7 separate regions of the Homo sapiens genome follow, and all the other regions are linked to region 1. Evidence: promoter capture Hi-C in 16 types of primary human blood cells and fetal thymus (Javierre and others, 2016). All regions are on one chromosome and are shown on one strand. Each heading gives the region's core, a stretch centred on a gene start or on the middle of the fragment in contact. The rest is flanking DNA. Distances are from core to core; before and after follow the strand shown.

Region 1 (3,013 bases), core at 229-2,728:
CCCGCTAAAGCACCTGGAAGCCACTGATATTTCTCAGAGGACAGGCATAAACATAAAAGGAGATACAGGGAACAGAATCTCATCCAGGCTCTTGTTCCTCGGATGCCCTGAGTCAGCTCTTCAGGGGTCCAGCCTGGGAGAGGCTGTAACTGGCTAAAGCCTCATCCCCTTTCTATTTCCAGAGATTTGCCTACTCTACACATTTCATATAAATAACATCATACAATATGCAGTCTTTTGTGACTGGCTTCTTTCACGTAGTGTAATGTTTTCAAGGTTCACACTCAATGTATCTGTTTAAACTAAATGAATAAATGACTGGGTAACTCTGTCTAGTGCAACCCTGAATCAGAACTCTGAATAACTAGATTCCTGGCTGACCCTCTACTTCCTGGTAGGAAAGGAGTTCCCTCTGCATAGGAGCCCCAAGAAATGATGTCTACTTCCCAAGACAGGTTTCAAATAATCTAAGTGTCTGGTGGAGTTAAGCTCTCTGAGGGTAAGGGCTCTATATGGGCAATTAATGACACATAAGACCGGGGCAAGTATCCAATACATGGCATTAGTTTTTCTATTAAACATATATTTATTAAGGGTCTATCAGGCACAAAATGTCATACTTAGCTCTTTCTTGCTTCTCACTTTATATTACAAACAGCTCAGTGAGATAGGTATATCTCACTGATAGGTTTATAATGGGCATTATATGTGAGAACTGATACTCACAGTGAGTATCATAGTAATACTCTAGCAATTATTGATAATTGTTACAGCAACTTTCAGAGATTACCCAGTTATCATATGCAAGTTTTCTGATTCCAGTAGCACATTCAATACAAGTCCTCTGACTGAAGGAAATGTTTAGATTTTAGAGGGAATTGTTTATTCTCAATCATTCTCCTTGCTTTAGGTGACAGAATCAACTCAGATTTAATCCACCGAATCTGCTTGCCATGGTGAGTCGGAGGAAAAGCAGAAACACAGAGGCCAGGAGGAAGGGCTGAGAGCCTAGGCAAGGGAGGGATGCCTAGAAAAAGCCAAGGCTGTAGAAGCCCTCTGGGATGGCTGGATCCACAGCAGGACATGGAAGAGAAACTGCTCAGGGTGGAGGGAGTCATAATGGAACATTTCCACAAGGTCAGGGAAAGCTGTGGCTCAGAACTGATGTTTCCTCAGAGGACATGCATTAAAAAAATGCAGGGAACAGAATCTTGTCCAGGTGTGGGTCCCTTGGGTACCCTAAGTTAACTCTTTAGGGTTCCCACCTGGTGGAGGCTCTGACTGGCTACAGCCTCTCTAGACTGCAGCCCCAGAGAGGAGTCCTGGAAGCTCCTGAGGCCTCTTTGGATTGCAGGGACTAAGAGGCAGGAGAATGTCAGGAATGACCCAGCGTGTGCCTGGTTGTGCAAGAGCCACCTCCTGCTCTTTCCAGAGCCAAGCCTGGGCCCTATAAAAGACACATCCAGCTTCAGCATCTCATCTGCTCTGACTCCCCAGGGACGTGTCTGTGCTCCTGCGTGTGACCAGGGTGAGTGGCAACCTGGGATACCAGAGGGGTATGAGCAAGGCAGAGGGATGGGGAGGATGGAGGTAGGCTGGAGAAAGAGTTGTGTGCTTGTGTTCTGCCATACTGAGCAGGAATGGGACTCAGCCTGCCTCGAATCTGTTGAGGCTCTGAGGCCTACCGGAGCTCATATAGGTGGGGAAAGCTAACTGTGCACATCTTTTCCAATTCTGTGTTCAGTGACTTCATGTTGGTAACTTCAAAACTGCTGTGTTGGGCATATTTACACCATGGAAACTGGCAAATACTTCAAGCCAGGCTCTTTTATCTGGAGGTTTCATTGCAAAATATTTTCCAGAGGACCCCTTGGTATGTCCTGCAACACCCAGCTTGTCCTTAGGGCTTGTATTAAAGGAATAGGTACTTCAGGGAGCTGTGAATACTCTATTCGGGCTTGTGAGGATAGAGCAATCGCAGTTTCCCCTGAAAGGAAGAGTAAGAAGCTCATTCTGTTGATTTTTTATCTACGTACTTTTATCTAGAGGAAAGATTCAAGTTGTTTCTTTCAGGTTACTGATGTGATTGTATTATCTAAATATCATTCTTCTTCTACACATGCATTGATTTTAGAAGAGGTATAATATGATCCTTGGTTTGAAATATTTAAAGAGTTTCATTATTATCTTTCAGGTTGACTAAACTCCTGCCAGCATGTCTTGCCAGCAAAACCAGCAGCAGTGCCAGCCCCCTCCCAAGTGTCCTCCCAAGTGTACCCCAAAATGTCCACCTAAGTGTCCCCCCAAATGCCCACCACAGTGCCCAGCTCCATGTTTCCCTGCAGTCTCTTCTTGCTGTGGTCCCAGCTCTGGGAGCTGCTGTGGTCCCAGCTCTGGGGGCTGCTGCAGCTCTGGGGCTGGTGGCTGCTCCCTGAGCCACCACAGGCCCCGTCTCTTCCACCGGCGCCGGCACCAGAGCCCCGACTGCTGTGAGAGTGAACCTTCTGGGGGCTCTGGCTGCTGCCACAGCTCTGGGGGCTGCTGCTGACCTGGGCTACAGAAGAGCTCTTGGGACTGAATGGCCAAGAACCTGCTACGGCCTGATGGATACTCTTTCCACTTCCTCTCATTCCATTCATTGGTTGGCAGAGACCACAAAGACTCATGGGGCTTTCCTGGAAGAACTTCGTGCTTGATGTAACACCCCAATTGCAAGTCTTCTTTTCCTCCTTTACCTCATGTTATAATAAAGCTCTGATCTCTGACTCACTAAATGTCTTGGTCATTCTCTTCTCTTCTGAGATTTCAAATGTCCTCCAAAGGTCAGGGCCTCAGAGTAATTTTCTTCATGAGGCTAGGACAGGACATGAGTAGGTGATACATGAAAAGCTGCTCTGAGGAACTGATTCCCCCAGATGCTGAGTGAATGGAGCTCCAAGAGGGTCACCTCTGGCTATGGTAGCTTTGCCTTTCTCTCCACTAAGCCAGACACATGTTCTAATTTTCTGTGTAA
Region 2 (3,013 bases), core at 311-2,810, 450 kb before region 1:
ATATCTGACATCTGATATCTGAATATCATATCTGAAATCCACAGAAATCCAAATTTAAGGAATTGAAACTCAGGAGTCTGATATAAGGTCCCAAATATCTAAGCTATCAAATCTAGACCTGACAGTTTTAAGGTGGTGGACACATTCTTTTGTGATTCAGGAGTAAATGCCAATTTCCTGAACTCAGAAATCTACTTCACAGTTTTTCTGAGGACTGTCTGGGTTTGTAGGAATTAGTCACTTAGATAGGACATTATTTAACCTGTGGGTTTTGTTTGTTGTTTAGTAAGGTCACTTCCGTTAGTTATGCTATGGAAACCATCACGGATCTGCTTTTGACCTTATCTCAAACTTTTACCAAACCCTGTTCTCTCTCACCAAGTAAGGACAATCCTCTAGGATGTTTGACATATGTGACAAGAAGGTGGAAAGGGATAAAGAAGAAAATTCCTGCATAACTCCATCCTGGCGTGGAGTTCTTACCTTCAGAATTTGATGAAACTCATTTTCCAGAAGTTCTTTCAGCTCTGCCTTGTTCAACGTATCATACTCCCCATGCTGGGTGGCATATTGGTAGAAAACATCGATGACAGTGATGACGCCTTGTAGGAGTTTAGGCATTTTTTTTTTTGCAAGTTTGAGTAACCTAAAGGGAGGAAAAAGAGAGACCAACCCCTTACTATTCTTATTTCTTGTTTAAACACATAAATAGTTCTAATTATTTATAATAATTGTTCAGAATTAGTCAGTCATGATTAAATTCATTCTGTTGTAATCAAGAACCAATTCAGAGTTGAATGACTTGTTCAAGCCATGTAGCAAGAGAGTGATGAAATTAGGAATATAATCCATAGGTCTTATTTCCATTCCTGAATGAATGTAGGAAAAATGACTTTCTGTTTTTGGCTTCCTGCCATTACCAGGGATAATATTAGCTTTGTTCTGGAGCTGTAGAAGTCCTGAGTGTTCCACTTCATCTGCTTCCTCTTTCTAGGTTCGAAGCATACTGTGGGCATAGGTCCATCATCTACATGACATGCCTTACTCAACCTAAGGAGCATCAATGGCTGAACTGAACTCTCAAGACTTCTAGGTCAGAGAAAATAGACAATGTGAGCAAAGCCAACAAGCCTAGGTGATATGAAGCTAAGGGTAACTGCTATTAGATCCAGCTTCTGTTCTCATTCTCCAAGCAGGAAGTGACCCTCAGACCTTATTACACAATAGAGAGGAAAAGCTCAGTTGTAAAGAAGGCAACCTGCCTGTGGATAATTAGAACCCCATGATATCCATGTTATAAGGGAAGCGACCTCAAAGAAAGGAGATAATATACATAGTCCTAGTCTTTGTTTCATTTTTCTTTTCAGTAAATTTAAACTTATACCAAAGTTCCCCAGAGTATACTAAAAAGAAGCCTTGTATCTAGTGCCTCTTTGCCTTAGAGCACATCCTGGACTTTCATAATTTATAGCCCTAAGTACCCTTGAGCGGAGTTGAACTGCTCACTTACCTAGCTCACCAGAGGAACAAGTAGGGTAGAGACAGAAACAGCTTTCAGGGTGCTGCGAGTTGGGCAGAGTGGCCTTTTTATAGAGGGAATAATGGTCCCTCTTAGGGAGGAGTTGCTAATTTTGAGATGTCCTAATTTACTCCTAAACAAGCCCATCTCCACCTCTATCTCCACCTCCCAGGTGTTTACCTTCTTCCTGACTTCCTTACAGGTTCACCTAAGATTGCATTAGCAGTTCCCAAATCTGGGCTACTCTCAGCCCCACCTGCCAAAGGGTCAGGACACTGCAGAAAGGCCTGTTTTTGTATTCATCAAACTATCTAGCACAATATATTGACAACAAATTGTGTGGATTTTAATAGAAGTTGAATGGAGTGTGTGCAGGGACATCATGGCCCAAATGTCAAAAAATCATGGAAATTGATGATTAAAAGGACTGTAAAGATCATCTAGTCAAACTCTCCCATTCTAAGCTAAATGTTCTTAAATGGTATTCCAGCCAAAGTGTCATCTTTGGTATTGTTATTACCTTTTGAATTGGATAATGGCTCCAGGCCATCCTTTAACTCATTAAGTACCTCAATTTACCAGACCCCTTATTGGCCATTCATCACCATAGCTTTCATTTCAAACACCATATAACCTTAGGAAGAAATGCGTGCTTGTTAGCATGGTATCCATGGTTCCTCATGATCTGGGCTGTGGCTTTTTTCCAGCTCCATTTCTCCCCTCCATATTTCTCTTTGTACTCCAACAGTAATTAACTAGTAATATTTCAAACTTCCTCAATATACCATGGGATATGTTATTTCATATTTTTTCTTAGAATGTCTTTCCTCATTGTCTGCCTAGTGAACTAATTATTCTTCAAAATCCAATTTAGGCTTCCCATAGAAAATCTTTCCTGAATTACTCAAGAGGGAGTTGTAATTGTGTACCTTATTCATATTTATTGTTGTATCAATCATACTATATTGTAATCTTTAAAAATTGTTTTACTATACAATTATTGTTTAATATAAAAATTAGAAAATATTGATAAGCAAATAAGATAAAATCAAAATACCTTTAAAGCCACTAGCCAAAAATAACTACTGTTAGTTATTTGTTGTATATCCTTGCCTTTCACAAACACACACATTCACACACAGACACACACATTTGTCTATGGGCTTATTTCATTTCTAGGCTATGAGCTCCTTGAGAATAAGGAATGGACATTATTTATCCTTATGTCATTTGGAGACCTAGTATACTGCTTGTCACATAACGGTCTCCAATAAATGTCAGTTTGAATTCATTTGAAAGAGAAGCAAGGATCAAGACTATAGTCCTCTGCATTGGCCAACTTCCATCTTTTCACAGGAGGACTAGGGTCTGCCCTCTCTCTTGCCATCTTTGCCTCAGAGGACATGATTTTACCTGAATATAAACGGAATCTTAGCATTGAGAATCAATGAGTGGCTTTCTGCTTTTTTCTGAGGCCCTCGCTCTGCATTTCTT
Region 3 (3,013 bases), core at 141-2,640, 440 kb after region 1:
GCATAGATTCTTTATTCAGGGAGTGAAAGGAAAGTGACAACTGCACAGGTGGTGGAAGCTCATGCCCAGGGGACAGACAGACACAGAAAACATCAACAGAATTCTCTAATGGTTCCCAGGGAGAGAGCTGCTCTTTCTTCTGAAGCTCTGGGAGCTGGCACAGCCCAGGACTTCCTTTGCTCAGTCTCCACCTGGACAGTGGCAGTATGGCAGCCTCAAAAAGAAAACCTTTTGCTATCAGAGATCATCACAGGCCGATCACAGGCTAAGAGGAAAGAAGCTCCCTGTGTATCCCTGGATGGCTTTGATGAGAAGATGCAGGTGGAGCTGTGGAACGAGGTGAGCCAATTATCCTTATCCTTTCATGCTCCTGATGAATCCTGAAGCTGTTACTTGCTCTTGGGTGGACACTTTGGCTGGCAGGGTGGGGAAGGTGTCACAGGAGGACATTTCTGCTGGCACTGCTGAGGTGGGCAGGACTGTGGACACTTTGATGGTGGGCAGGGCTCAGGGCACTTCGGGGGTGGACATGGCTCTGGGCACTTTGGCGCGGGGCACACAGGAGGTGGCTGGCAGGGCTGCTTGCACTGCTGCTGTTGATAAGACATCCTGCTGGAGTCTCAGAATCTGAAAGAAATTATATGACAGTGTTCACGGGAAGGGAATCCTCCAGAGAGAGAAGCCAAAGCTTATGTAATACCATGGCATATTATTTCTCCAATCTCCAAGAAATTATTTAAACTCTTAATTCCCTTTTCAAGAGTCCCTGGCTTCTCACTTCCACTTCAGCGAATTACTTCATTGTCCCTGGGAACTCTTGTGTTTTCTCATATAATTTTTCCAAAGAAAATATCTCTGTAGTAAACAACCAAGCATGTTATTTCTATGAAAATAACATCTTCAAGAAAGGCAGTCACAAGTTCAGATACCCAGGGCTATCTCACAAGCTATTCCTGTTATCATTATCTGTTGTAAAATCCCAGTGGGTTGACATAGGCACACAGAAAACGACTGTTTGGGAAGAATTGCATGCTCTCACACCTGCTACGACATAAACCTTTGAAAAGGACACCAGAAAAGCAGAGAAAAAAAGAAAAATACTTTGTTATTTTTTCTTCTTCAAATCAAAGCTTTCCCCTTAACTAACTTCTCTGTCCATATGAACACCTAACTCTGTACTAAAAGAAAGCTAAAATAGCATATCATTGTGCTCTAATCCTAAATTTCCATCCACTAAGTAGCATCAAATCAACATTCATAGGATTGGATCAACCAAACTTGCTGTATTCAGATTAAATTCAACATTTCAGGGCACAAAGAACAGAGGAACTCCAGGAAGCCGACTCACCAGGTTCTCCAAGGCAGATCGGTGCTTAGGTACCAGGAGTTTAGGAGTCGTGCAGCAGAAAACCTCTTTATAGGGCCTGCTACCCCTCCCAGCAGAAAGTGTAACTGCCAAAAGCTACACTTATCCAGTAATTTCTTAAGCCAAATGCAAATTTATCCACAACTGGCCTGACAGTGATTATCAAACTAGGAAATATCCTGTTCTGGGATCTCCCCACTGGGTTAAGTGCTCCTGACTCACAGAGGCCCTGCCTTAGATCTCAGTTTCAGTGACCTATGGCAAAGAGGGACTTGGGGGATTCTCTAACTGGTGGTCAAGGGCTCTCTTTTTTGACTGGGGGCAATGATCCTTTCCTGTCTTACACCTTCCCTAAATCATAAAACTTCCTGTCCTGATCCACTTTACTGAATGCCATATTGTTGTACATGAACCCATCTCCACCTCTACTTTCCTTGTACAATTTGCCAATGCGCTAAAAGGAAGGAGAGACCTAACAAAGGCCTGGGTTCTGGTCCCAGATTTTTTTTTTTTTTTTTTTTTTTTTTTTTTGTTGCTAAGTTGTGTGACCACAGGCAGGTCACCTCTCCTCCCTGTGATTATAAGCAGGGGAGAATCATACTTACCTCTGGAGATGGGAGCTGACCGCATTGTGCCATCTGCTGACCCTGTTCAAGCCAGAAACTTTCTCCTCCACTTCTATCTTTCTCTCTCATAGAACCCTGGATTTTACGATTTTCCTTTCCTCTTTGAAGCTGTCTTCTCCACCCAATTTGTACAGGCAATTGTCACCTGGGACAGATTCCAGAGTGACAGCCAGTCTCCCCAGCACATTTGCTACTTGCTGCCATTAAGGATGTATACTAGCGCCTTTTTATTTATAAAAATGTATTCTTTGCTACCACATTAAGGAAACGGAGAGACATGAAACAAAATTACAAGCATTCATTCAAAATCTATGTATTGAACCATGCCTATATGATTCCCTGAAACCACCCTATAGAGCACAATCTGCATAGACTCACATTATCATATGTGAATAATTAGAAGTAGGTTTGCAGAGTGGAGATGGTCAGCGCACCTAAAGTCTGAAATCTGGGGGAAAATACAAATTAAGTATAATCTAATATGTATTCTTCCCCTCTGTTTCTAAACAGGTTTTAGGTGTTTCTCAGTGTTTTTTAATTTGTTTGCATGTTCTTTCTCTGTCTTTTCCATAAGCCCCCTAGTCTCATGACCTGCTAGATTATCAAGTCACACCCCAATGTACACCTCTCATCTATTCATTTTGGTACATATTGTTCACTCAACATATATATTGTCAATGCATATAGTGACTCCTCTTTCATATCTTTTGTAAACTCTTCCAGCAATTAGTGAGGCTTACTAAACATGGTATATTAAATATTTAAGTTGATGTTGCTAGAGCTTCCTTAGACCAGTAGTCAGAAAGCTTTCCAAGAATGTGGTTTATAGTTGGAGAAGAAGAAAGGAAAATGAGGAAGAGGAAGAGGAAAGACTCAAAATCATTGGAGCAGTCACCAGCTATGCTCCAGGAAGGGTAGGAGTGCTGAATCAACCCAGCATCACATCCCTCAGTTAAGCAGGTTAGGTTCCCAGAGCTGCCATTGCTCCCGTCAATAAGGAAGGGCTTTGGGGCAAGATCAC
Region 4 (3,013 bases), core at 365-2,864, 350 kb before region 1:
AGAAAAAAATCCTTGACAATACCAAATATTGGTGAGAATGTGGAGAATTGAGATTTTTTTTTTTTTTATGTACTGCTGGAGGCACATAAAGTGACAGAAGCACTTTGGAAAATTGTTTGACAGTATCTAAGTCCTAGCGATTTACTCTTAGGAATATTCCCAACTGAAATATGTACATATGTGTAACCAAAAGTAGTACACAAAAAAGTGCATAGCCCTATTATTTATAATACCCCCCAAAATGGAAGAGACCCAAGTATCTACCCATAGACAAATGGATGAATAAATTGTTATATTTTCAGATAACATAATAGTCAGTGTTGGGAGATGAAGGTAGACTGGACTAGGATGATAATGGCAGAGAGGGGGATAAATGGATAGATTTGGCAGGTTTGTAGGCAGAGTTGACTGGACGTGGTGATGAATCAGTGTGATGAGAAAACAGGAATCATGGATAACTTCTAGATTTTGGTATGAGCAAACAGTTATTTCTCGTTATTTCTATTATTTCCATCATCTTTCACATAAAAGAATGCAGTCTCTCCCTGCTCCTGCTCTTGCCTTCCTATATTCCTGTTTTCCACGTAGCAGCCCAGAGTGGTCTTTTAAAAACATAGATTATCTTACTCCTCCTGCTTAATACCCCTTTAAGTACATGCTAAAATCTAACATGTACTGTTTTAATTCTACTGTGCCCCTCTTTACATGAGCTACGCTGTCTAGCTCTCTGACATCACCATATACCACTGGTCCTCTTTTTAACTATGTATGCTCTAAGGCACACTAGCTTCTTTTTGCTCTTTGGGACAAGTTTACTCTTGCTTAGAATCTTGCCCTTTGCCTTGGCTAGTTTCTTTTGTGTTTAAGATCTCAACTCAAAGATAATTCCCTAGAGAGGTCTTCCCCTGGCCATCTAATTTAAAGCACTTTCCTCCTCCCTCCCATCACTTTACTACAAGCTTGTCCAATCTGTGGCCCAGGACAGCTTTGAATGTGGCCCAACACAAATTTGTAAACTTTCTTAAAACATTACGAGTTTTTTTTTAAGCTTATCAGCTATTATTAGTGTCAGTGTGTTTTATGTGTGGCCCAAGACAATTCTTTTTCCATTATGACCCAGGGAAGCCAAAAGACGGGACACCCCTGCTCTACTACATCACTCTTTTATTTTCTTCATTGTTCTTATCACTATTTAAAATTATCTTATTTGTTTATTGTTGTTTACTAAATGTTTCCCCCTATTAAAGGTAAGCTGCTAGGAGTTTATATAGTTCACTGCTGCATAGATAGAGCCAAGACCAAGTAGAAGGTAGTTAATACATATTTGTTAAGTAAATGAATAAATGGACAATCTAACAATACAGAGTATTGAGTAGCTCCATGGAAAGCAAATTTATGCCCTCATTTTCCTTCTATATAGAAATAAACCTTTTAGTGACAGTGCCACTAAAAAGAAAGAGAAAAACCCTAAACTTCCAGAACCTTTTGCCTTACAGTACACATACATTCAGATTTCCACCTTGGTTAATAGTAAGTAGACAAAATTAAATGTATTCCTTCTTACCTTGTTCACCAAAAGAGCAAATAGAATGTAGCCTGAAGGAGCCTGCTGGGTACTGAAGGCTGAGATAATGGCCCTTTTATAGCAGGCCCCATGCAGGGAGGAGCCACCCTCTGTGGGATGGTCTGATTCATTCCTAACCAAACCTAGATCCACCCATATCTCCACCTCTATTTCTCCAGCAACCTGTGTTTACTTCCCAGCTTCCTCACGTACTCATCTGTACTTGTTTCAGCAAGTTCCAAATTTGGGTTTACATATTGGAAATTTTATGGAAGGGTCCCTTTGGCTAATACAGGTTGTTTGTGTGCAGGGCCCATACCTACTTTTCTGTAACCCCACTTTGGCTTGACAGGTGCTTGGTAAATATCTATTGATAAATACACTTCCTGATCCTTGTCTCTAGAAGAGTAGGACATATTAATACGTTTATAAGAACTTGAAATTCAATTTATGATAGGAAAACATCACAAGCATCTACATATATGTTCTTTTTTAATCTATGTATTCCATCTTTGGGTACTGAAGAACTTGCCATGAGATGAATGCCGTCTTCTAGAAATTATGGTCAGTAGAGGATAGGCAAATTTAATTTTAATTTTTCAAAGCAGAGCAAGAATGTGAACAATTGAACTAGAAGTGGTGATCACTAGGAGCATGAGTTTAATTAGGCAAGACTCATTAGTGTAATTTTACTTTGTTTTCAAGGTTATTACATCGTGGCATCAGAGACATGTTCCACATACTCTTCCTTCTTAAACCATGAATTTTCTTTTATTGCCATAAATATACAGGGGACTCCTATCCCTGGTCTGTCTTATGATATACACACTGTTATGTTGAGCAGATTGCATCTCCATATGGATGTCCCATGGTTATCTCAATCCATAGTGTTGAAAACTGAACTTACATTGTGCCTCCTACCAAAATGTACTATCCTCCAGAAGCCCATATATTGGTAATGATGCCCCCACACACTGGGTGTCTCAAGCTAGACAAAGTCATTTTCATTTCTCCTTTTCCTTAACCCCTCATGCTCATGTCACATCGTATCAATTATACTCAGGCTTAGATTTTGTTATGTAGGCCTATTCTCTACCTCCAGTGCTATAATTTTAGTTCTGGACCTGACCATCTTTCAATTGGGTATTGGTAAAGAAAAAAAAGTGTCGTAACTAGCCTCTCTCTCTACTATTAAGCTGGCTTACCATCTTATGTCATTCGCTGTGCTGGTTTCTTCTTGCCTGCAGAATTTCAGACTTTTTTACCTGACGTACAAGCCCCTTTACAATAGGCATGAATCTGTATCTTTTCAATTGTCCCTCTTATTACCTGTATCTCATGGAAAAGTCACTCTAGAATGAGCAATATTTCTTGGACGAGCCCATATTGGTCCACTACTGTTCAAAATCTTTGCGTGCTATCCTCCACTACCTTGACTTGAGAGACCCT
Region 5 (3,013 bases), core at 151-2,650, 330 kb after region 1:
AATGTGATGACAGAGCCCAGAGTTTAGGCATGGCAGTGGCCCTGGCCCATCCCAGAGGGAAGTGGCCGGTCAAACAAATGCTAGCAGAGAGGGAAGGACATGGGTGTGGAAGGGAGGGTAAGCCTCTTCTCCTTCATGAATTATCAGCTCACACCTCTTCTCAGCTCACACCAGGAGGCCTGGCACAGGACAGTGAATCATGCCCAAGAAACTGCCTTGTGGCTTCCTGCCTTCCTCCCTCCCTCCCTATCTTTCCTCTTTTCTTTTCTCTTTTCTTTTCTTTTCCTTTCCTTCCCCTCCCCTTCCTTTCTTCCTTCCTTTCTTTCTTTCTTTCCTTCTCTCTCTCTCTCTTTCTTTCTTTCTTTCCTTTCTTCTTTATCTATCTCTGTTTCTTTCTCACTTCCTTTCTCCCTTCCATGAACCTACAGCTCTATTCAGGAGAACAATGACTGTCCATTGACTTAACACCCATGATAACCAGGCACTGTGTGACGCTGAAGTAGAACAAGGGGCTTTCAGAACCTGGTGGAAGGAGCTGGGCATCAGGTTCAAGGGAGTAACACAGTCGTGGAACATTGGGAAAGGAGGAGCTATTCACATGCCTGAGATGTAAGGATGTCTGGATTTTCCAAGGGCCGCGTCTAGTAAGAGAGTGTGTATTGAGGGCAACTCTGAGTTAGTGACTTGAGGTTCATCCTGTAGTGATCAGAGGAAATGGCTGGTGTATGAACCTAGGGAATCAGCACGCTCCTCTTCCTATGTCACTCCTGGAGAAGAAAGATACCACAAGAGGCAGGGTCTTCAGGGCTGAGCCACAATGTCACACAGATCCAGTCAATCCTGCCTGTCCATCTCAATGACATCTACTATCCCTGATCAACACGGCACCTTAAGGCGCCCTTCACAGTGAAAGCAACTTATTTCCAAAGCAGGCATTTTGCCTTCCATTGCTCCTCCCAGGTCCAAATCCAGTAAGAGACTGAAAATCAGATGATTCACTTATTCTGCACCATCCCCATGGCCTCGCAGAACCAGAAATGCCTATTGTTATTTCCATGTCCACTTCAACCATGAGGAAGCCCAATAGGACTAATCTGGCTAAAGATTAGGGCCCAGGCCAAGAGGCCTGGCTCGTTCTAGTCCTAGGAGCATGGTACTTCCTCCTAATTTAATCCATTGCCATTCAAGAAGACCTTTGCCCACAGCAACCACACCACAAAGGGTGGACAGTGAGTCAGGCCCAGGTGACATCACTGTCAGAGCTTAAGTGACAAAAAATGTTAAGCCAGAGATACTTATCACAAAAGCTGGAATGAAGTTAGAGCAGTCTTTTAAAAAATCCAATTTTCTTAAGGCAGGGCTCATTTTCTATATAAATACCAGCTAACAAGAGACTCTTCACCAGATCCCAGAGGCTGAACACCTCGACCTTCTCTGCACAGCAGGTGAGTCTCCGCATTAGGAACACCTTAATATTCTCCAATAGTTTCTTTATTTTGATTGAGATCTCTTTGCTATGCAATGAATATATTTATTTTAAATGCAATAACGACTTTTGTTTAAGGTGACCTTATACATATTTTGACTTTCCACTCAGATTACAGGTGTGGAACTTAGGATCAGAAAAGGGGAGTGATTTCTGTAAAGGCTTGCTAAGTTAGCAAGACAATATACCCACTTCAAGAGCACTCTCCTGTCAACATGTATTGAAAATTTTTAATATAGAAGGCACTACATTGGCAATTTTGATGATCAAAAGATAAGTTTTTCTTTATTGCATGAATGTATAATCCATTAGAAAACATATACTTGACTAAAATTTGCAAACATACAGCATGGGGAGTGATTAGCAGAGAGGGAAAGCAAGTATCATGCTGTGGCAAAACGAGGAAGGTGAGAGCATCAGGAAGGACAGCCATGAGAGGTGGGCATGTGTGGGGAGGCAGCGATGATGTGGAGAGCCTGCCAGAGAGCATGTGCAGCAGGCACAGTGTGAACAGAGGCTCCCAGGTGGATTGTGGGAGCCTTAGGGGGAAGTTTAGATAAGAGTTCTCCTGGGAGAACTATCGCACTCTATAAGGAGGACATGAGTGAGTAGATTCTAGACTGCTGACCTTAAAATCTTTCCAACTTATGGAAAAACTGAGGTGTCACATCAATCTTCAGCCAATGACACACAGCCAAGAGTGGTATTAAAAGTGATTTAATCAGGGAAGAGCAAGAAACATGCATTTCTTTTCACTCAATTCCTCAGATGATCCCTGAGCAGCTGAAGACCAGAAAAGCCACTAAGACTTTCTGCTTAATTCAGGAGCTTAGAGGATTCTTCAAAGAGTGTGTAAGCGAAAGCTTCAGAGTATATATTTGCATATTTGTATGTGTTTTCATGTTGTACGTAGGTTTTTAGATGTACCAGGAAGAAAAGAAGCATAAAGAAAGGCTCCATTTACACGATGTGGAAGAAATCAACTTTACCTTATTCTCTGGAAGATAAGTGGGGATCACCAAAGCATCCCATGATCTCAAATTCAGGGAAAAAGAAAGAAAAGAGAGGCTCTCAGTTCTGAAGGAGAATGAAATGACAGATATTTGTCATTAAACTGGGCTTCATTCCTACTTAATCAAAGCACTGAATTAGCTGTTTTGTCTCTAGGTCCAGCATCCTTTGAAGCATGAGTTCTTACCAGCAGAAGCAGACCTTTACCCCACCACCTCAGCTTCAACAGCAGCAGGTGAAACAACCCAGCCAGCCTCCACCTCAGGAAATATTTGTTCCCACAACCAAGGAGCCATGCCACTCAAAGGTTCCACAACCTGGAAACACAAAGATTCCAGAGCCAGGCTGTACCAAGGTCCCTGAGCCAGGCTGTACCAAGGTCCCTGAGCCAGGCTGTACCAAGGTCCCTGAGCCAGGTTGTACCAAGGTCCCTGAGCCAGGCTGTACCAAGGTCCCTGAGCCAGGTTGTACCAAGGTCCCTGAGCCAGGCTACACCAAGGTCCCTGAACCAGGCAG
Region 6 (3,013 bases), core at 199-2,698, 320 kb before region 1:
AGTGAGGACGAAACATTCACTTTCTTTAAAATATCTGCTGCTTTAACAGACTTTCTGGCATCCCCAAAATACCACTCATAGAGTTTGCTTAGAGTTCACTGGGGCTGTGCACTTTTTAGCTGATCTGGGTCATACAACAGAGCTTGTACAGGACTCCAGCAGCCTTCAGTTCTGGCACATGGCTCTCACCTTCAGAACTGGATGAAGCTCTTTCTCCAGAAGTTCCTTTAGTTCACCCTTGCTCAGTGTGCCACACTCCCCATCTTGCTTGGTGTATTTGTAGAAAACATCAATTACGGTGACAACACTTCTCAAGAGGTCGGTCATCTTTTTGCAAGTTTAAGTGAACCTGGACACAGAAAAACAAAGAACCCTATTATTCATATTCTCTCCTTTTATCAGCAATTTTCATTTTAATAATAACCAGCATGATTTTTTTAACCTCTTGTTTTTTAAATCTCAAAACGTAAGAATGGGCCAGGGATGATACAACCCCGTTTAACACAATGAAAATTAACTTTGTTAACTTTGAGTTACTTTTCTGTGATCAAGTCTTGGCATGTTACTGGTTCAACTGAGAATAGACCTCAAGTCTCTATATTTCCTGTCATGGGTAAGTATAGTCTCTACATAGTATCTCTACACTTTGAGTGTGTTGGCATTCTGGGTGTTGTTCTAAGGCTTCCAAAATTTCCAGAACCAGCCAGACACCATTGCCTCAATCTCTCTTTCTAGTTTCACTGCTTTTCTTGAGTCAAAAGTGACAGACCTTCCACCATGCACATCTGTTTATCCTCTGGGCACCAGAAGCTAAACTGGACCCTTAAGGCCTTCAGCAAATTAAAAATGGGCAAAGGGGCTCAAAATAGCTTGGTGTTTCATAGGCATGAGACAGTAGAACTCAGTAGAGCTTAGGAACTCTCTTAATGTCAAGCACTTGACCAAACACTGTTTTCTTTAATTAATCAAGAAGAAGAGCTCAGCAATGCAGGCAGCAGTTTAACTAGTGGATAATTAGATCTTGGAGCTCTGGGAACCAACACTGAATAAGGAAGGGACTCTGCAACAGACCCAGCTGCCTCCCAGTTTGAGCTGGACAGCCCAGAAAAGAGGGCATGGAAAAAGACTCGGAACAGACTGTGGAATGGCCTAGAGGAAGGTGAACTTTTACTTGCATTATTCTTCTCCATAAAAATGAACTTAACTACAAAAAGGCCCCAGAATAAACTAAACTAACCAAACAAATAAGCAAACAAAAAGAAAAGAAAATGAAAGAAAGAAACAAAAAAGAAAAGAAAGGCAAAATATACATGAACTCTGCCTTAGCTTATATCCCTAGACTTCTACTATGGACAACACCAAATATTCATAAATGTAGCTGGATGAATTTTCTCTCACCTGGTTCACCAAAGGAACAAGTAGGATAAAGCCTGATGCAGCTTGCAGGGTGACGATGGATTGGGATAATGACCCTTATATAGCTTATAGTGATTATAGTGAATGAGGTGATTCATTTTCCATCAAACCTAACTCCACCTCTACATATTTACCTTCCTCCTTCACATTGTTATCTACAGATGATTGCAGAAAGGCTAGTACCAGCCCCACCTTCCAGTACGAGGACATGGTTGCAAGATACCTTTTTTTTCAGGGTCATATACATGTGAAAAGCACAGACTTTGTTTTAGAGGACTCATGTTATACATTTCTTTTAACTAGTACCCACAGAAAGTAGCAGAGTGTAAGATACTTGGAAGGTGCACAATAAATGCTTATTTAATTGAAAATGAACCTGAGCCACTAGGTTCATCTAATTCATGTCTTTTTTGTAATAATAAAAAGTGACATTTATTGAGAATTTACTATGTGCTAAATACTTTAAACAAACCATCTCAATCTTTAAAAAATCTGCACTTTTAGTTATGGGTACATAGTTGTATATAATTGTTGGGTACATGTGATGTTTTGATATGGGCATACCATGTGTAATGATCAAATTACAGTAATTGGGGTATCCAGCACCTCAAGCATTTCTTTGTAGTAGGAACATTCTAATTCTACTATTTTAGTTATTTAAAAATATACAATAAATAGTTAACTATAGTTACCATATTATGTTACCAAATACTAGATCTTATCACCTCATTTAATCTTCACAACCTTCATACGAGATATGTATTTATTATCCCATTTTATAGAGACAGGTTCTGGAAGCATAAGGATCTTCTCCAAGGTCATAGCTAGTAGGCAGAGAAACCAGAAGTTGAACCTGTATCTACCTTATTGCAATTGCTGTTTACCATTATACTAACTTACCTCTGTGTATTTATCATATATAACTATCATGCAAAAATTATGCACCATTTTAGGAGTGTAAGGCCCACTCAAACGCAAATAATATAAAAAAGTAACATACAGAGTGCTGTTAGGAAGAGAGGAAACATTCTCTGACCTTGTGAAGGCTCATTTCTAGGCTAGAAAAGTGTAATTGGCTATATATAAAAATAATGTTTTCAGATATGTTCAGGGTGAATTTAGAGTGAGCTTTCTTCCAGCACTCTGCGATCCACTGGTAGTCTGGCATGTTTAGGGCCTGGACCCTTGGGAAAATGTTCACTTATGTACAGAAAGTATATCAAATACACTTGAGGGTAACAAAAATAATCAGAGAGCTGTAAGTCTTAAGCATGGAGAGCCAATTCTGCTGTACTTTGCTACCAGGTGATAATGATGATGATGAGGAGGATAGCAGCTACCATTAAGTGCTAAGTGCTTACTATCTTCTATACATGGTAGGTTTACATGCTTATCTATTTATTCCTCAAAATAACCCCATTTTATAGATAAGGTAATAAAAGCATAGAGCAATGTAAACATTTGTTACAAATCGCAGCTAGTTAGTAGCAGCACTAGAACAGATACACATGCTAGCCGATGCTAAAGCCTAGCACTTAACCATATATATTCTACATATATGGAGTCAATAAACTCCTATCTGGGCATTGCTTTGGGC
Region 7 (3,013 bases), core at 514-3,013, 310 kb after region 1:
CGATGTCACTCTGAGAGCTCCCCTAGAGCGAAAGCAACTCAGGATAGAAGCAGACATTTTAGTTTTGGCTTTTCCCTTCCTTTCTCCGACCCTGGTGCCCTGAGTAATGATAAACTGAACCTTATTTCCACCTATTCTAATTCATGCCCTTCTTACTTTAGCAGAGCTAGAAACACCCACTGTTTAGAGCCACTCAAATATTAAGCATCTTTATTTCTACTTAAAGGGATTTATCTTAGCACCGATTAAGGCTTACCCACAAGGCAAGGCTCTTTCTGTGTCCTCACGCTGTCACTCCTAAAACTTTCCAGAACTACAAGTGACCCAGCTCTCAGTCAGGAAGGGCTCCCCTTTCCACCTCTAATCAATTTTCTGCCTGGGCTTAATTTCCTCCATAGACATTAGGGAGTCACAAGGAATTAAAACAAAGGAGAACACAGGATTTCTGTGTAAAATTCTTTTCTTCCTAGGGTTTGTTTTTTTGACCTTGGTGAGTTATTTCACCTCTGGTGGCCTCAGATTCCCCAATCATCCCTTGAGGAGTGTGAACTAAAGGCTCTCTGAGATCCATAATCTCAGTGGCTCTCAACTGTGCTCTGTCTCTTACCCTGGGGAGTTCATGATCTGTAGAGGAAAAGTGGGCTTCCTCATCAGAGAGCTCCTAGAATGACAGGCATGATGGGCATATGTTAGGCTCCCCACTGAGATTTGTTGAATAAATGAGGAAATAAACACTGTGGTGGGGACACCGTTGCTTTAAGCAGGAACAGCTCTGACCCTCGGAAAGCCCCCAGGAGATACAGACCCAGAAGGAGGAGGAAAACCTTGCAGCCAGCAGGATCTCTAGGTATTGGGGCTGGAGCTGGCAGTGGGCAAAAGTGGAGAAGGATTCAGCATTGAGGACCCCATGGATGGGCTGCAGGGAGGCAGGTAGAAAAGGCTTTTGGGTTTTCAGGTGGGGGGCAGTCTAGCCTGATCAGAAAGGAGGAAAAGGCCAGGGCCAGATGTCTGGGTGGAGTGAAGGGAAAAAGTGATCCCAGAAGAAGGATTAGCCCCTGAAAGTCCCTGAAGTAGGAGAAGGGTAAAGGTGTGGTTGGTGAAGGAAAGCAGGTTTTCCCAGATTAGCAACCAGTCAGGGGGAGGAAGGTGAGAGTGGGAGAGTCATAAGTAAATTATTCTGAATGTGTGTAGTTTAATGGAATTGGGAAAAAGATGGGGGAAATGGATGGAAGGGTCTTGGACTCTGAGACAAGGGGTCTATAATCAGTCCATTTCATTATTTCTAGCTTCCACCTTCACCAAGGCAGACAAGGAGGGCCCACCTCAGCTCCTCTGCTCCCCCTCCCTTTCCCACCTATTCATGTGTGCAAGAGTGCCCTGTCCCACAGAACACGGGGAACAACCATCTCAATGACAAGGACAGCAGGTGGCAAGGCCTCAACAGGACTCAGATGTCCCCCCAGGGTTAACTCATGAAACCCTCCATGAAGCCTGCTGCTCACCCCTCCCTCAAGGCAAGCCCTGCACCTGGGTCTGAGGATGAGGGTGGCAGTGAAAATTAGGCCAGTGACATCATTTTCAGCCAGCCAGTGCCAAAAAATATCAGGTGGTGTTCATCAAAAAAGCTGAGCCAACCGGTGATGAGGATGGTAGTGTGAGTCATGTGTGACAGGTGAGGAATGAAAACAGAGTGCCCGAGAGCTTCTATTTCCTTGAGGCAGGGCTCATTCATCTTATAAAAGCCAGCTGGCCATTGCCTTCACACCAAACCCAAGGGACCACACAGCCCATTCTGCTCCGTATACCAGGTAAGTCTCTGATTGCAACAAACTGGCAATTCTAGTGTACTTTTTCATTATTAGAAATTAGCTAAAGGCAAATATGTGTAAGCAGGTTAATCCAGGGTTTCAATGGGAGATAGAGAATAGTGGAATATCTTTATTTTAAGTTAAATTACAGTCTGGATTTGAAAGGACCTTAGAGATGGTTAGGGCTCCCACCTCAGTAGATAGTCATTGAACTGGGAGTCCTGGAGAAGATTGTTCAAATGCCCATGGGAAGTTCATAGCAGAACTAGAACTCAGGCCCAGAGCACTCTCAGTAACACTGCAATTTCCCCCTGACAAGATATTTATAGAAATTTTAATTTATTAGATGGATCTCTACTGAGCATTTATTCCATTTAAGGCAGTATGCTAGGCACTTTGGACAAATCAATGCCTAACGTACTTACTTAACAAACATAAAACCTAGCAGGAAGGTAATACATATATATAAATAAATGAAATGCAAAGTAGATAGTAATTGGCATGACGGAGATGGGCAGAGAAGGGCTGTGCACTTTTGGGAGACCTTGCTCAAGGAGACCCTCCTAGGGGTGTCAAGTGATGTGAGCTATGATGGAGGGGTATTTGGACAAGCAGAGATGGGAAGAAAAGCATTTGGAAGGGACTGTGTAAGCACAGACCAGAAGCAAAACCATAGAGGCTTAGATGAATATAAAGCCATCCTATAAGTCACAGGCTTTCTACATGGTACTAGGAGAGGAAAGTGGTCTGATGCCATTTTCCAAAAGACCTAATATGCGGACCTCATGTCCCTCAGAAGCCAGCTTTAGTAGGGCATTTTTCCAGAACAGATATAAGTTGCCTTGGGTAGGAAGGGAGCCAAGAAGAGAACTCCAATAAAATGGAGCAGAAGAAATTGCCTTTTAGCTCCTCCTCTTCAAAGGGCCTGAAAATTATCCAAGCTTATTTCATTTTTAAATGTAATGGGGGAGTTAAGGGAGATGAAAGGCTTTCTCTTCTAAAGGGTCCTGAAATAAAATCTGTTTGGCATTGAATTTGTATCCATCTTTCTTTAATTGAATCACTGTGTCAGCTTTCTGTCTCTAGAAAAAAACACATTTGAAGCATGAATTCTCAGCAGCAGAAGCAGCCTTGCACCCCACCCCCTCAGCCTCAGCAGCAGCAGGTGAAACAACCTTGCCAGCCTCCACCCCAGGAACCATGCA

Evidence for each region. Contacts are between HindIII fragments. The CHiCAGO score rates a contact against its expected background, and 5 or more counts as called.
Region 2: a contact is called between the fragment with the promoter of HRNR here and the fragment with the promoter of LCE2C in region 1, in 10 of 17 cell types (neutrophils, endothelial precursors, erythroblasts and 7 more). The highest score is 9.8, in neutrophils.
Region 3: the fragment with the promoter of SPRR2F here is called in contact with the fragment with the promoter of LCE2C in region 1 in 5 of 17 cell types (M0 macrophages, naive B cells, neutrophils and 2 more); the score reaches 11.0 in M0 macrophages.
Region 4: the fragment with the promoter of FLG here is called in contact with the fragment with the promoter of LCE2C in region 1 in 6 of 17 cell types (neutrophils, M0 macrophages, total CD4 T cells and 3 more); the score reaches 12.4 in neutrophils.
Region 5: a contact is called between the fragment with the promoter of SPRR3 here and the fragment with the promoter of LCE2C in region 1, in 8 of 17 cell types (M0 macrophages, endothelial precursors, monocytes and 5 more). The highest score is 13.2, in M0 macrophages.
Region 6: the fragment with the promoter of FLG2 here is called in contact with the fragment with the promoter of LCE2C in region 1 in 12 of 17 cell types (M0 macrophages, total CD4 T cells, neutrophils and 9 more); the score reaches 15.0 in M0 macrophages.
Region 7: the fragment with the promoter of SPRR1A here is called in contact with the fragment with the promoter of LCE2C in region 1 in 11 of 17 cell types (neutrophils, monocytes, M2 macrophages and 8 more); the score reaches 14.1 in neutrophils.

What each region holds. Positions count from the first base shown.
Region 1 is chr1:152,673,801-152,676,813 of GRCh38, forward strand. It overlaps LCE2C (late cornified envelope 2C), which reads left to right and starts at 1,479. Exons shown (of 2, transcript NM_178429.5): 1 at 1,479-1,528; 2 at 2,195-2,769. The coding sequence starts at 2,216. The coding sequence ends at 2,548. The HindIII fragment of the contact is 8,836 bases long and covers 1-3,013 here.
Region 2 is chr1:152,222,633-152,225,645 of GRCh38, forward strand. HRNR (hornerin) reads right to left here and starts at 1,561. Exons shown (of 3, transcript NM_001009931.3): 1 at 1,511-1,561; 2 at 484-646. The coding sequence starts at 621. The region is part of intron 1 of CCDST (cervical cancer associated DHX9 suppressive transcript); the gene reads left to right. The HindIII fragment of the contact is 14,241 bases long and covers 1-3,013 here.
Region 3 is chr1:153,112,126-153,115,138 of GRCh38, forward strand. It overlaps SPRR2F (small proline rich protein 2F), which reads right to left and starts at 1,391. Exons shown (of 2, transcript NM_001014450.3): 1 at 1,349-1,391; 2 at 1-627. The coding sequence starts at 608. The coding sequence ends at 390. The HindIII fragment of the contact is 1,668 bases long and covers 1,129-2,796 here.
Region 4 is chr1:152,323,625-152,326,637 of GRCh38, forward strand. FLG (filaggrin) reads right to left here and starts at 1,615. Exons shown (of 3, transcript NM_002016.2): 1 at 1,565-1,615. The region is part of intron 3 of CCDST (cervical cancer associated DHX9 suppressive transcript); the gene reads left to right. The HindIII fragment of the contact is 6,016 bases long and covers 1,047-3,013 here.
Region 5 is chr1:153,000,349-153,003,361 of GRCh38, forward strand. It overlaps SPRR3 (small proline rich protein 3), which reads left to right and starts at 1,401. Exons shown (of 2, transcript NM_001097589.2): 1 at 1,401-1,445; 2 at 2,654-3,013. The coding sequence starts at 2,673. The HindIII fragment of the contact is 2,627 bases long and covers 1-2,347 here.
Region 6 is chr1:152,358,558-152,361,570 of GRCh38, forward strand. It overlaps FLG2 (filaggrin 2), which reads right to left and starts at 1,449. Exons shown (of 3, transcript NM_001014342.3): 1 at 1,399-1,449; 2 at 190-349. The coding sequence starts at 327. The region is part of intron 7 of CCDST (cervical cancer associated DHX9 suppressive transcript); the gene reads left to right. The HindIII fragment of the contact is 5,522 bases long and covers 1-3,013 here.
Region 7 is chr1:152,982,318-152,985,330 of GRCh38, forward strand. It overlaps SPRR1A (small proline rich protein 1A), which reads left to right and starts at 1,764. Exons shown (of 2, transcript NM_005987.4): 1 at 1,764-1,808; 2 at 2,895-3,013. The coding sequence starts at 2,914. The HindIII fragment of the contact is 3,855 bases long and covers 1-2,747 here.